Linked DNA regions of Homo sapiens: region 2 is linked to region 1. Evidence: promoter capture Hi-C in human tissues and cell types (Jung and others, 2019). All regions are on one chromosome and are shown on one strand. The core of a region is centred on a gene start or on the middle of the fragment in contact, and the rest is flanking DNA. Distances in the headings are between cores, read along the strand shown.

The links. Contacts are between HindIII fragments. The study calls those that stand out against the background at their distance.
Region 2: a contact is called between a fragment that was not itself captured here and the fragment with the promoter of SYTL2 in region 1, in 1 of the 25 tissues and cell types used here (hippocampus).

What each region holds. Positions count from the first base shown.
Region 1 is chr11:85,807,557-85,813,801 of GRCh38, reverse strand. It overlaps SYTL2 (synaptotagmin like 2), which reads left to right and starts at 2,661. Exons shown (of 20, transcript NM_206927.4): 1 at 2,661-2,848. RefSeq lists a silencer at 2,523-2,702. The HindIII fragment of the contact is 9,754 bases long and covers 1-6,245 here.
Region 2 is chr11:86,815,945-86,822,189 of GRCh38, reverse strand. It overlaps a transcript of PRSS23 not described here and the pseudogene MOB4P2. Among named protein-coding and RNA genes, the nearest start is that of PRSS23, 19 kb to the right of the region's middle. RefSeq lists a silencer at 3,369-3,663. The HindIII fragment of the contact is 9,327 bases long and covers 1-6,245 here.

The sequences.
Region 1 (6,245 bases), core at 1,412-3,911:
GCAGTGCGCTGTGTTTGTGCCACTGCCTGGGCAACAAAGTGAGACCCTGCCAAAAAAGGAAGGAAGGAAGGAAGGAAGGAAGGAAAGGAGGGAGGGAGGGAGGGAGGGAGGAGACTTGTCTAAAGTCACCCAGAGAAAGAAGGAAATTAAGTGACTTGTCCAAAGTCAACCAGCGAGTTCTGTGGTAGAGCCAGGAGATACACCAAAGTCTGTGCATTTAACCTTACACCATGCTATCCCTACCCTCTTGCCTTCCCCTTCAATGTCAACCTAGAATTCTCTAAAGTTTAAGTGTCACTTATATGTAAACCATTTTGAAGGGTTCCTATGGGATAAGTGGAACAGGCCATTGCTGACTTGATATGATCGTGTTAACCAAGGCTTTTTCAGTGCACTGTATGTGCAAGGCATCATGCTAAACATGTGCATCTTCTTTTAATCTTCACAGTAGGCCTGAGAGAGCAGTGCAATTATTTTCTCTCTAACAAATGAGCAAACTGAAGCACAGGGAGGTTGAGTAATTGGTCTAAGGTCTTATTAGAAATTGACATTTCTAACAGCATTTGGATCTTGGCCAAGAGCTCTAAGATTTAGTCTCTGAGCCATACAAGATTTAGATGAATTGGGAGCCATAACAAGACCCTGCCTTAAAATTTCTCCCCCACTTGCCTGCCCCACAACCTGAAGCAAGGATCCTGTGACCCTCTCTAGCATTTAGGCATTGCTATTTGTTTCCAGGGGACGAGTGATACTGGGAACAGCATGTATTTAGTTCCTTCAAAGTCCTATGCCAGATGATACAAGGCACCCAGAGGTGAGCAAGACCCAGTGCCTGCCCTCCAGAGCTAGAGAGGGGCAGGAAGGGGATAACCAAGGCAGGTGCAATCAACAATAAAAGTGAAGTACCAAAAGCATCTGAGGTCACGCTACTCCCCTGCCTAAAATCATTCGCCAACAGCCATCACCAACAGGACACAGCCTGCTTCCCTCAGCAAGGCAGGTACAGCCACTCCTCCAACATCTGCCCACCTACCTCCTTAGCTTCATCTCTGCCTCATTGTCCCAAATCCTGTGCAATAGCCGTGACATATGACAGGCATCTCCATGTCTCTGCCTGCCTCTCTGTGCCCAGTCTTCTGTCACCCCTTCAATCTGACCTAATTTGTAGCCCTCCTTCAAGACCTACCTTGGTCACATTTGTATTTTTTATTGTCCCCCTCCTTCAGCGTAGTGACTCTACAACACTTTGTCAACCTATTATAACACTTACCCTAAAATGAAATTATTTACAAATTTGTTTCTTCAAAGGCAAGACCAGTGGCTTATTCCTCTTTTGCATGTGGCATGCTCACCCAGCACAGGGACACACCAGGCTCTCAAAGGCTGAAGGAAGCCAGAATACACATCTCTGCACAGTGCCAGGACTCTTGGGCCAGGCTAGCAGCCTGCACTGGGCACTAACTGAAGCCCTTGGGGATAAGTATTTGTAAGTTTGGGAGAAGGAAGACCTTTGGAAGAACCAAAGGCAGACCTGGGCCACCCTCAGTTAAATGGACAACACTAGTCCAGGAAATGATAAGGAAAAAGGCTTTAAGGTTCATCTCCTTCAGAGGTTTGCCTGGGCTGGCCCCATCATGGGTAACTTGTAAAAAATAGGTCGTGATACAATTTTTAAATTATTTTATTTATTTTTTTGAGACAGAGTCTTGCTCTGTCACCCAGGATGGGGTGCAGTGGTGCGATCTTGGCTCACGGCAGCCTCCACCTCTCGGGTTAAAGCGATTCTCCTGCCTCAGCTTCCTAAGTAGTTGGGACTACGGGCGCTCGCCACCACACCCAGCTAATTTTTCTTTTTTCTTTTCTAATTAGAACAGAGTTTTGCTATGTTGGCCGGGCTGGTCCCGAACTCCTGACCTCGGGTTATCCACCTGCCTCGGCCTCCCATAATGCTGGGATTACAGGTGTGAGCCACCGCGCCCGACCACAATATTGTATTTACTGTATTGCATTGTCTGCCTCCCTGCCACACAGCGTCTTCCAGGAGCTTACCAGTCCTCTGTGCATACCCCAGTAAGTAGCTCAGGCAGTGCATGACGCCCTCACCTTTCTCTAGGTATTATTGTATTTTAAAGCATCACTTCATTTAGTCCTCTCAACAACTTTTTTCCCCCCTTCTTCTATTTCACATGTGAGGAAATTGACGTCCCGAGGGTTAAAGCAAGTTACCCCATGACCGGGCTCCATACCCTCCGCGCCCCTTTCCCTGCGCGGTGGCTGTCCCTTCTCGGAGTGCAGAGGCTCCTAGTGCTCCACACTCTCGGGCTCCAAGGCCCCCTAACGCGCCGTGATAAAAATAATAATAACAATAACAACAGTGCTGCTTTATTTGCACAGAAAACAGGTTGTTTCGGGGCAAGGTACACTTGAGAAGGAGGCTAGGAACCGGAGAGAAGCAGCAGGCGGGGGCGGAGGGCGAAGGGAGGGAAGGGGAGAGGGCAGGGGCTGGCAGGCGCTGTGTGCCGGGCGAGGAGGCCGGGGCGGGCCGGGGCGGGGAGCGGGCGAAGCGCCATTGGCCCGAGCACCCGGGACCGGCCCCACCGCACCGCCCGCCGGGGGCGGGGGTAGCGGGGAGGGACTCGCGCACGCCGCTCTGCGTTGACAGTGCCGGGCGACACCCGGGCCGTGCCGCCAGCGTCCGTCGGGAGAGTGAAGGCTCGCAACGCCTTGCCCGGGGGAAGGTAACGCGCCGCGCCCGGGGCTGCGCGGTTTGCACCGCCAGGCCGAGGGCTGGGGGCCAGAAGACAAGAGAGACGGCGAGGCGCGCTCCCTGCCCGGCAGCGACTCGGAGGTGCGCACTCGGGTTCCAGTCTCTACTTGGCCCACTCGCTGTGTTACCTCGGGCAACTTTGTTTCCCTCTCTTGGTCTCTGCTTCCTCCTCTGTTAAGTGAGGGAGGTGGTGTAGAATGTTGTTCCTTAGTCTAACCAGTTCTAAAATGGGAACTGCGTTTTGGCACGGGGAAAGCTCCTTTCCTCAGTTTCCCACCTACTCCAGAGCCACCTCCGCTGCCCAGGCGGCCAGGAAGCTGGGATGCCCGGGTAGGCGAGGGTTCTGCTGAGCTATCGCGTTTTCTAGGGCTTTCAGGGACTGACCTGGGCTTGGGGCTGGGTGCTGGGGAGACCTGGCTGCAGAGTAACTGCCCCCAGATTGCTCAGGTGCAGAAAGGTAGGAGCGTCAGCACCTGTTTACAGGTGGGGTGTTGGGAAGGGCCGGCCAGGGGATGATGATTTCTCCTTTGAAAATAAGACGTGTTTTGGAATTCTCTTCCATACCCACACCTCGTCCCACGGCGAGCTATAAACTACACGAGTGGGCTTTATCATCCTTTGAAGTGGAAAAGCGACTGTTTTTAGCGTCTAAGACACAGGGCTCCACCAGCATATAGGAAGTGGGTCTCTCTTTCTCTGCACCCATCCTGCCGCGTCTTCCCTTTCTTTCCTCCTCTCTTTATAAATCCCCTTTGACCTTGAGGGGCTCCACTTCCTGCCTTAATGAAAAGTTCTTCTTTTCATTTAGTGCTGGTTTGTGACCAGCAGCCTCCAGGGCTTTGGGCGCAGGGTTGAGATAGAAGCCTAGATAAGAACAGGCTATGAATCACCCTGTCAGCCCCCTGAGCCACACAGCCCGGCAGGGATGTGCAGAGGAAGCCCGGTGGGGCTTCAGACAGATAGACCCTGGAAGGTGGGGTGGATGCAAACTGCCATCCAGCTTCCCGTCCCCTTGTTGGCAGCCATTCCCCACCAGGATGGTGACCCCTGCTGTCTGCTGGATGGAGCAGCCAGATAGAGTAGGATGATTGAAAGGAGCTGAGGACTTGGCTGGATTTCTATGGAAGGTCTCCAGCATTTCCCTTCCCTCACTTTCCTCCACCCCTGAAGTTCTGCCCCTTCTCACCCTTAGTGTGGTATCCAGGTGAAATCAGATTGCAGAACCCATCAAGAGCAGCTAGGAAGGAGAAGAGGTGTGGGGACGGCAGCAGGGCAATGTTGACTGCTGTTTAGTGGGCACTTACTATGGGCCAGACACTTCTTTGTATGTAATATATCCTTAATTCTCACAAAGCCACATGAGGGGTGATGTACTATACCCTATTTTATAGGTGAGAAACAGGCTCAGAAAGATTGCTTCCTTTAGTCACTTAGCTAGGAAGTAGCATAGCTGGAATTCAAATCCAATCTCTGATTCTAAAACCTGTGTTCTTTACACTGTCTTTGTGCTCCTTAAGTAAGAGCAAGCTGGAATAAGGAGAGCAAAAATGTCTAACATTGTGTTCTCACCAGGTGTCAGGCACTATGCAAAACATCTTAGAGCTATTATGTCATTTATGGTGCAGGAGTTTCCGTTATTCTGGAGGTAATCTGTGACTGCCTTAGCCTCTCAGCAGCAGTACTGTTCTAGAAGGCCTACCCTAATCCTGCCCAGCTGCTAGTGCGTGGGTGGGGCAGGGCCCTGTTTGCTTTATCCTAGAGGTGGTTTGGGGTCTAATGAAAGATTGATTGTCCACATCTGACCCGTTAGCCCTAACCGTTGGCTGGTGAATGATTCCACTGTCCCCTAAGAGGCCTTTTTCAGGTTTTGCTCAATAAACATTTGTGGAATGAATGAATTAGCACCTTGTGCAGAGTGGTCTGCTGCCTTGTAGAAATGTGAGGCAGCCTAGGGGAAGCCCAGGTTCCACCATCTTCAAAACCCAGATGCTAGTCTAGGTGTTTCTCCTCTTTGGGCAAGGGAGGTAGGGTGAACTGTGCCTGTATAGGCTTCCAGAGCTCCCTGGAAATATGTTTGCTTGTCACCTGTTTTACAAAGAATTTTTAAACATACAGTAGATGAAGAAAAATGTGGCTTTTTTTTTTTTTAAATTAAGAGGAAAACTTACTTGGTATTAATGAGGTTGTCACTCTCTCAAAAGTTGGGGGGATAAGATTATAATGTTTGTCTTAGGGCTTACCAAACTTTTCCATAGAAGATCCTGCAATGGAAAAGAAGACCAACACATGCTCCTGTGCTTATGCAATTTTTTTCATTTGATTTCATAATATATGGACTTTGATTTAAAAATATAAAGTTTTTTCTTCAAAATATCTGAATAAAACTGGTGTCCTGGCAGATTGTTATATATTCTTAGGGGCTTCGAGTACCCAGATGGAGAAGTAGGACCAAGGTTCTAGAGGGCTTAGACTACTGTTTGAATTTTCCACTCTCTGGTTCACAGTAATAGAGCTTCTCTAGTCCCTGGGGAGACATCCACTTTTTTCCCATTTTTCAGAATGAAGAATGTTTTAAAAATAAAAATATCCTTTATTTTCTTATTACCAAAACTAAACATATTCATTGTAGAAAAAAATATAAGATCCAGATTAACATTAATAATAATATCAGGCCGGGTGCAGTGGCTAATGCCTGGAATCCCAGCACTTTGGGAGGCCGAGGCAGGTGGATCACAAGGTCAGGAGTTCGAGACCAGCCTGGCCAATATAGTGAAACCCCATCTCTACTAAAAATACAAAACTTAGCTGCGCGTGGTGGCATGCGCCTGTAGTCCCAGCTGCTCAGGAGGCTAAGGCAGGAGAATCTCTTGAACCCGGGAGGCGGAGGTTGCAGTGAGCTGAGATCATGCCACTGTACTCCAGCCTGGGTGACAGAGCAAGACTCCATCTCAAATAATAATAATAATAATAATGATATAAATACATCTATACTCAAATAATTAAAGCAAAACTTGGGATATAGCGTTCCAAATCTTTTTCTTTGCATCTATATTAACAAATTTTAAAAACACACACACAAATACAGCCCTTTTGACTGAATTATTGTCAGAGCTAAGAGCCATCTCAGATTGTTTTTGACAGAATGTAGAGAAAAAATCATGAATAATTAAAAGCATCATGAAGGTTAATCTTGTTTGTGAGCCCCGAAGTTCACCCCTCATAATTTCCCTGTATTTATCTTGTGGGAGAGATGAGTGCTGGGCCATGGGGCTGCTGTTGAAAATGCAGGGTCAAGCTGTACTCTTGCTAAACATCTCAAATATAACAGAAAAGGTAGCTCTTTAGTGTTGCTGATGTGCAAAATTTGAGCAGAAAATTAAAAAACTAATTTGCACAGTAATTTGCAGAAAATTCAGGAGGGTCCTGGAGAAAGTCATTGCCCCAGCATTGCATTTTATTACCTGTGTGACCTTGGGCA
Region 2 (6,245 bases), core at 1,979-4,478, 1.0 Mb before region 1:
TTTTCAGTTTTACCTACTATGCCTTGCATAGTAGGTGCTCAATAAATATTTGCCAAATGAACGAATAAATAAATGAACCCCTATTATGTGCTTGATAATTCACTGGTCACTTTATATTCATTATCTCTAGTTATCACAAGCTCTCTAGGAAGAAATTACTAGTCCCATTTTATAGATATTATTTTGCATTTAAAGTAGGATCTTCTCTTCTGTATTCATCTTTATTTCATCTGTAATGTCAATTCTCCTTTTAAAATTCAGATAAAAGCAAGTGCTTTTTCTTTAAAATCCTTTAATACATCCATTTTACTTCTAAAAAATTATTGGTACTCTTACTTATTAAATCGAGCCAATAGGCCCAGACGCTGACACTATGGTCATGGCGGAGGGGGCAGCGTGCTGAGGCGGAACGGGCTGGGCACAGGATTTTTATAATTGGCCTGACGAACACTTTGAAGAAATAGACAGTACACTAGCTGTTCAACAGTATATTCAACAGAACATAAGAGCAGATTGCTCCAATATTGACAAAATTCTTGAACCAGCTGAAGGCCAAGATGAAAGTTATGGAAGTATGAACATTTAAGGGAATTCTGTCTTGAGCTAAACGGACTTGTTGTCAAACTTCAGAGTGAATGCCATCCAGATACTTGCACTCAAATGACAGCAACTGAACAATGGATTTTTCTTTGTGCAGCTCATAAAGCTCTGAAAGAGTGTCCTGCTATAGCCTATACCAGACACATACTTGATGGTGCTGCATGTCTTCTGAAGAGCAATCAATGTTTTCCCAGCAGGGTTAGCATAAAGAAGTAATCCGTAGCAAAACTAGGATCACTATACCTTAGGAGTTACAGAATATTTTCACATGTTTATTTTCATCATTGGTAGATATTTGATGAATATGAAAAGGAAACATTTTTGTGTCATCGGATTACTAAATTTGTGATGAATTAGATGAAATATAATTTGATGTCCAGGGATAACCTCATTGTACCAATTTTAGAAGAGGAAGTACAGGTTTCAGTTTCTGGGGAAAGTGAAGCATGAAGGGAATCATGGAAAAATGTACAGATCACATAATTAACATTAATTATGTACTGTATATATCATTTTAGACACATCAATCATGTATCCATATTATAGCTTCTTCATTTAGTATAAGTTTTTGTATGCTGGGTTTGCCTTTTAAAATGGGAAATACTTTTTAAGTTATTCATAAGCTGTATATTCACCAGTGTGGCACTCATGGTTTTAGAATAAGATTAGTACTATCTGTTTATAATGCCTGTTAATAAAAGAATTTACAGTTGGGTAAAATTGCTGCTAAACAATCATTGGATCACAATCCTCATCAAACATACCCATCTATAAAAAAAATTGAGCGAGAGCTTGAGGTTTCACACAAGCCCTTTACTAAAGAGGTAGAAATGTTTTTCTTTGTTTCACCCTGAGTTTAGATATCCTCAAAAATTCTATAGTACATAGATTTGTCTTACCTGTTAACTTTCCTCAAATGAGATAAAGTGTTTTAAAATTCTGTTTATAGTTTTTGATATGCATATATAATTATGTGTATATCTAAATACAAACGCAAATAAAGCGTTAGTAATACTTAAATAATTTTACTGTGCTACATAAAGTATAACATACTTGGAAAGGATTTACCTTTCTGCAACAATGGACTGGTACATACAGGATGATGATAATGATAAGGCACATAAATGATGTTCCCACTGGAAACCTGCCCTGTCCACTCCTCATTTCCCTTAACCTTATCCTCAAACTACTTTAGCTGAGAAGCTTTTCATGAGACTGTGAGTTAGTGGTGGCTTATACTTATTTATATTTGTATTAATTGCTTACAGATTATACCTCATATTAGCAATTACATTATACTACAAGAAAATGTATTTGCATAGGCTCTTGCTTATCTTTGTTTTGCAAAATTGTCCTTCTTAGAAAACAGTCCTTAAAATTTTGACTCTTCCTGTTAGTAATTAATCTTTCATTTAACCAGCTAGGCAGCATTAAATAAAATTGAAGAAATACTGTAGTATTTATTTTACACCCCCTCCCCACAAAGTTTATGTTTGAATTACATGCACGTGGGAGATTATTTGCAATAATTCATAGGTTCCAAGGGTGTTGATGAATAGTTATACATTTTTTGGACTTTGTTATAATTCATTGTGGTAAGACTGATTCAAATGCAGATTTATCAATCTTATAATCTATTGAATGCCATTTTTGATAAAGCACTGGAGGTCTTATTGCCAAACTGATTGTAATGAGGCACTAAGGATGAAAACATTGTACATGTTGTGAAGAAAGTACTTAAATGCAACTTTTGAACAGATTTAACAAACATGAGGAACTTTTTATATTTAAAAGAGTTATTGTGAAATGAAGATGAAAATGTATTCATCTTAATTGTTTTTTCAAATTTAAGGGAATAATTTATACCATATTTTGAGACAAGAATGTACAGCAAAAGTGTGGGGAACAGTAGTATACTGAGAGAGTGTCTATACACAGTGTATGCCTTTCCAAACCTGCCAGTCTTTTTGGCTTTGAACAGTGCCCACCAGCCACAGTCATTACTGTTCCCCAACCCCCACTATCTCTTAAGAAGCCTTATGTTCACAGTGAAAGGAATGCTGACTTTGAAATTATGGGTTTATATTCATGTCACTATAAACCAATGGGAATGGTAATTTTTAAACAAACTTGCTAAATATTGAGAGACTAAACTAAGTTAATAAATTATATATAGCAGTGTAGGTGTTCTCTCTCTAAAAAAAAATGGAGCCAATAATTGGCTTTTTTCTTATTGAAAAAAGTTTTGAATTAATAATGCATCTTGCACTGCGTTTCTTGGTTCTGGTCTAATTGGTGCAGATGGCCTGGACCCAGAGTTCTGCAGAGTGTCAGGTCTGTGATGCTGTCTGGGTCTCTCGCTGGCTTTCTACAGAAACTCAAAGGTTTTTCTCGCTATTTGGATGATGCTTAAGTGTCTAGGCCAGCGAGTCATAGCCTTAGCTACCCAAAAGGAGCCAAGAAGTCTGGGTCTGACTGAGGCCTATGGAGTGCTGACTTGTTATATGGGTGAGAGCATGGGACTCCCGCCCAGCAGCATTCAGCATTCCTAATTGGCATTTTCAAGACACAGCATTGCCTGTAAGTCATCCTGTGCCACCAGATTACCTGGCACCACTCCAGTAGGATGTTAACAGAGGGAAGAAAGTAAGGAGTTGGCAAAGTTAAAAACAGCACAAAGAAAAAAAGAGAACAAACTTGAAAGAAGGATTTCACCACCATCATTAATGGCATGTATTGATTAACACTAAGCGTTTGTGCCACTTTGCACGTTGCTCACCCTCATTCAAAGACACTGTCTTTGGAAGCCCCTCTCTGCAAATGGGAGAAGGTGTGGAAAAGATCAAACTAAAAACAAATTCAAAGAAACCACGAGTTGCCGATGAGCATCTGGGAAATAGTCATAAGTTAAATAAACCACTAGGGGGCAATCCAAGAATGAGCAAAAGTCAGTCCAGTTGGCAAAGAAGATGCCTCGGGGAAAGATTTTTTTTAAGTACATTTTCCAACACATGAAGAAATCTGAGATCGTTTAGTCTGAATCTACAGAACAAGGTGATATTTCAAAATTTTGATTTATTTTTTCAAGTTACGTGTTGATTTAGAAAGGAAAGGTCTTTCTAAATGGTCGGAAACACTTACTAAATACAAATTGATCAGAATCATGTTATAAGGAAAAACAATGGTTGAAACAATAGTGTGTCTTAAAAATTTAGATTCCCACCCCAGGCACTCGAGAAACTTCTGAATGTTGGCCATTCAAAATAGATTTCAATTAATGATACATATGATGTGGCACAGCATAAAGGAAATCTGAAAATATTTGGTTAGCATGTATAAATGAATCAAATCACACATGATTTGTTTTATACTTGTACTGATGATACAAAGTTTTTAGGTATGTAATACAGCTTTGCAGATATGTGCACATATTTTTTTCTGGTGTATCTTCTCTGCAGGTAATTTGGTATGTGCTAATCAGTTGCTAACAAGGATCAAATCAACGATTAAGCCTCTTCATCAAGGATCAAACAACTCTTGTTCTGAATTTGCCTTCCCTGAGGCTCCTGACTCCCAATCTGGAGGCATGGTTAGTTGCTCCACTCACGGTAGTCTTATGGCACCTTGCTATTAGTAGAATAAGAGCATGAACTCCCAAGGCAGACTGCTAAGATATGAATCCCATTTCTAGCTGTGTGTTTTTGGCAAGTTACCTTGCTTCAATTAGCCCCTCTCTGACATGGATACAAAATCAATGCCTACTTCATAGGTTTGTAGTGGGAAGTGAATTAATTAATATATGTAAATCATTCATAAAAGTGTCTGGCACATTACAGGTACTCAATACATGCTTGTTGGTTTCATAAATGAATGATCTGATACTTGCCTGAACACAACGTAAATTCATTACAAGAACAAATTCATGAAGAAACTGCAGGATTCTTGGATGGATTTTCACTGGCTATAAAAAGTCAACTGGCCAGTGGCAAACAGGAGAGCTGAATAGTGATACTCTTGAAAAGAAACTCTAATTGGTGTTCAGGTCCACCAGACAAGGCTCTTTGTCTTACTTCTAGAATACGGTGACAATCCATGAGCCAGAAATAGAGGTATTTCAATAAAAGTATAGAGTTTTGTCTCAAAAATGCCAGCCAGCCATTTAGAAAAGTTCTATCTGCAGTCACAGAATTGCTCACTTTGTTTTTTGTCTTTTCAACCATAGCTATCTAAAGAGTTTAAAAATAGCCACATCATTAACTTAATTCTCTGGACAGATTGACACATTTCAAAAGAAAGAGTTTTTAAAACAGTATCTAAAAGGAACACCATATAAAAAGTTATAGGAAGTTCCAGAGTCAGGAAAAACATGATCCAAAATATACTATACATGAAATAGAAAGCATGAGGGAAACAGAAGCCCACAGTTAGAAGGCAATAAAAAAAATCACAAAAAAAGGCTTTCTTGCCCCTCAAAAACCATATTTTCAAGCAAAAATAGGCCATTTGAAAAAATATAGAATGGAAATAAATCTGATCGCAACTATAAATGTCCAGAGTTTTAGACTCAAGCATGATCATGTTTTATTCTTTCACAAAAGTGGGTCTTATAAATAATTAGATTTTCAAGTTAAACTTTTTCTGCAGATGAATCTTCATAGGATTTTACAATTTTCAAGACCTCAGACAAAGTGAAGAGAATTTGGGACACTAAACAGCTTGAAGAACAAAACAAAGCATAAAGAGGCTGATCGGTAAAGATATAATGAAGGAATTGAATGAATTCTTCCTGATATTATGTTATACTCAACCAACACATCTTTTCTGTGAAAGTAGAAAGACAAAGTGGTGGCATTTCTATTCCAACGCTGTGTTCAGCTGGTCTGGAAATCATCCTGGAGTAGTAAAACCTGTCACTTTAAAAAAACAGTGTCCTTATGTCCCAGAATGCCTTATCCACAGAGGATATTAGTCATGCTGGGGGCTATGTTAGTTTACCAAACATGGCATTTTCCATCAGGGAACTGGGGGTGGAGCAAGTTTTAATAAATCCAAGAAAGGAAATGTAATAATCAGGCAGGACGGTAACTCAAAGACTTATTAAAATGTAGGGGAAGCACTCAACTCATTCAATTTACAAAGTGGCAATTCCATTGTACTGAGGCCAAGATATTTTGTGGAGAGGGTAGTTACTGAGCCTCATCACTCTGGGAGGTAGAGCAAGAGTCATGACTACAGTGACCTCAAAAGGAGAAGACGCATGAACACCCTGAGCACAGGGATGTATCTCAGTCATCTCTGCAGCCCCAGCGTGAACACAGTGACTGGCACCGAGGTGGGCTTGAGGACATTTGCTGAATGAATAACTGAATGATTGACTAATTGAAGAGATGGAGGAAGGGCAACCTAGCTGGAGGGTAGGAGAGCTTGAGCAATGACAGAAGGTTGAAAACACGGATGTGTTTGGTACAACTTGGCTAGACGACAGGTTATGTGACTCTGGGAAGCAATGGGGGATAAATCTGATCACTATATTGGATTGGTCATGGATTCATGGCTAAGAAAACTAAACTTCTCTAGTAACCAGCATCTAGTCAATAGGAAACATAGGGGAGGGGCCTGATCAGGTCTTTGCTTCAGAACATGTC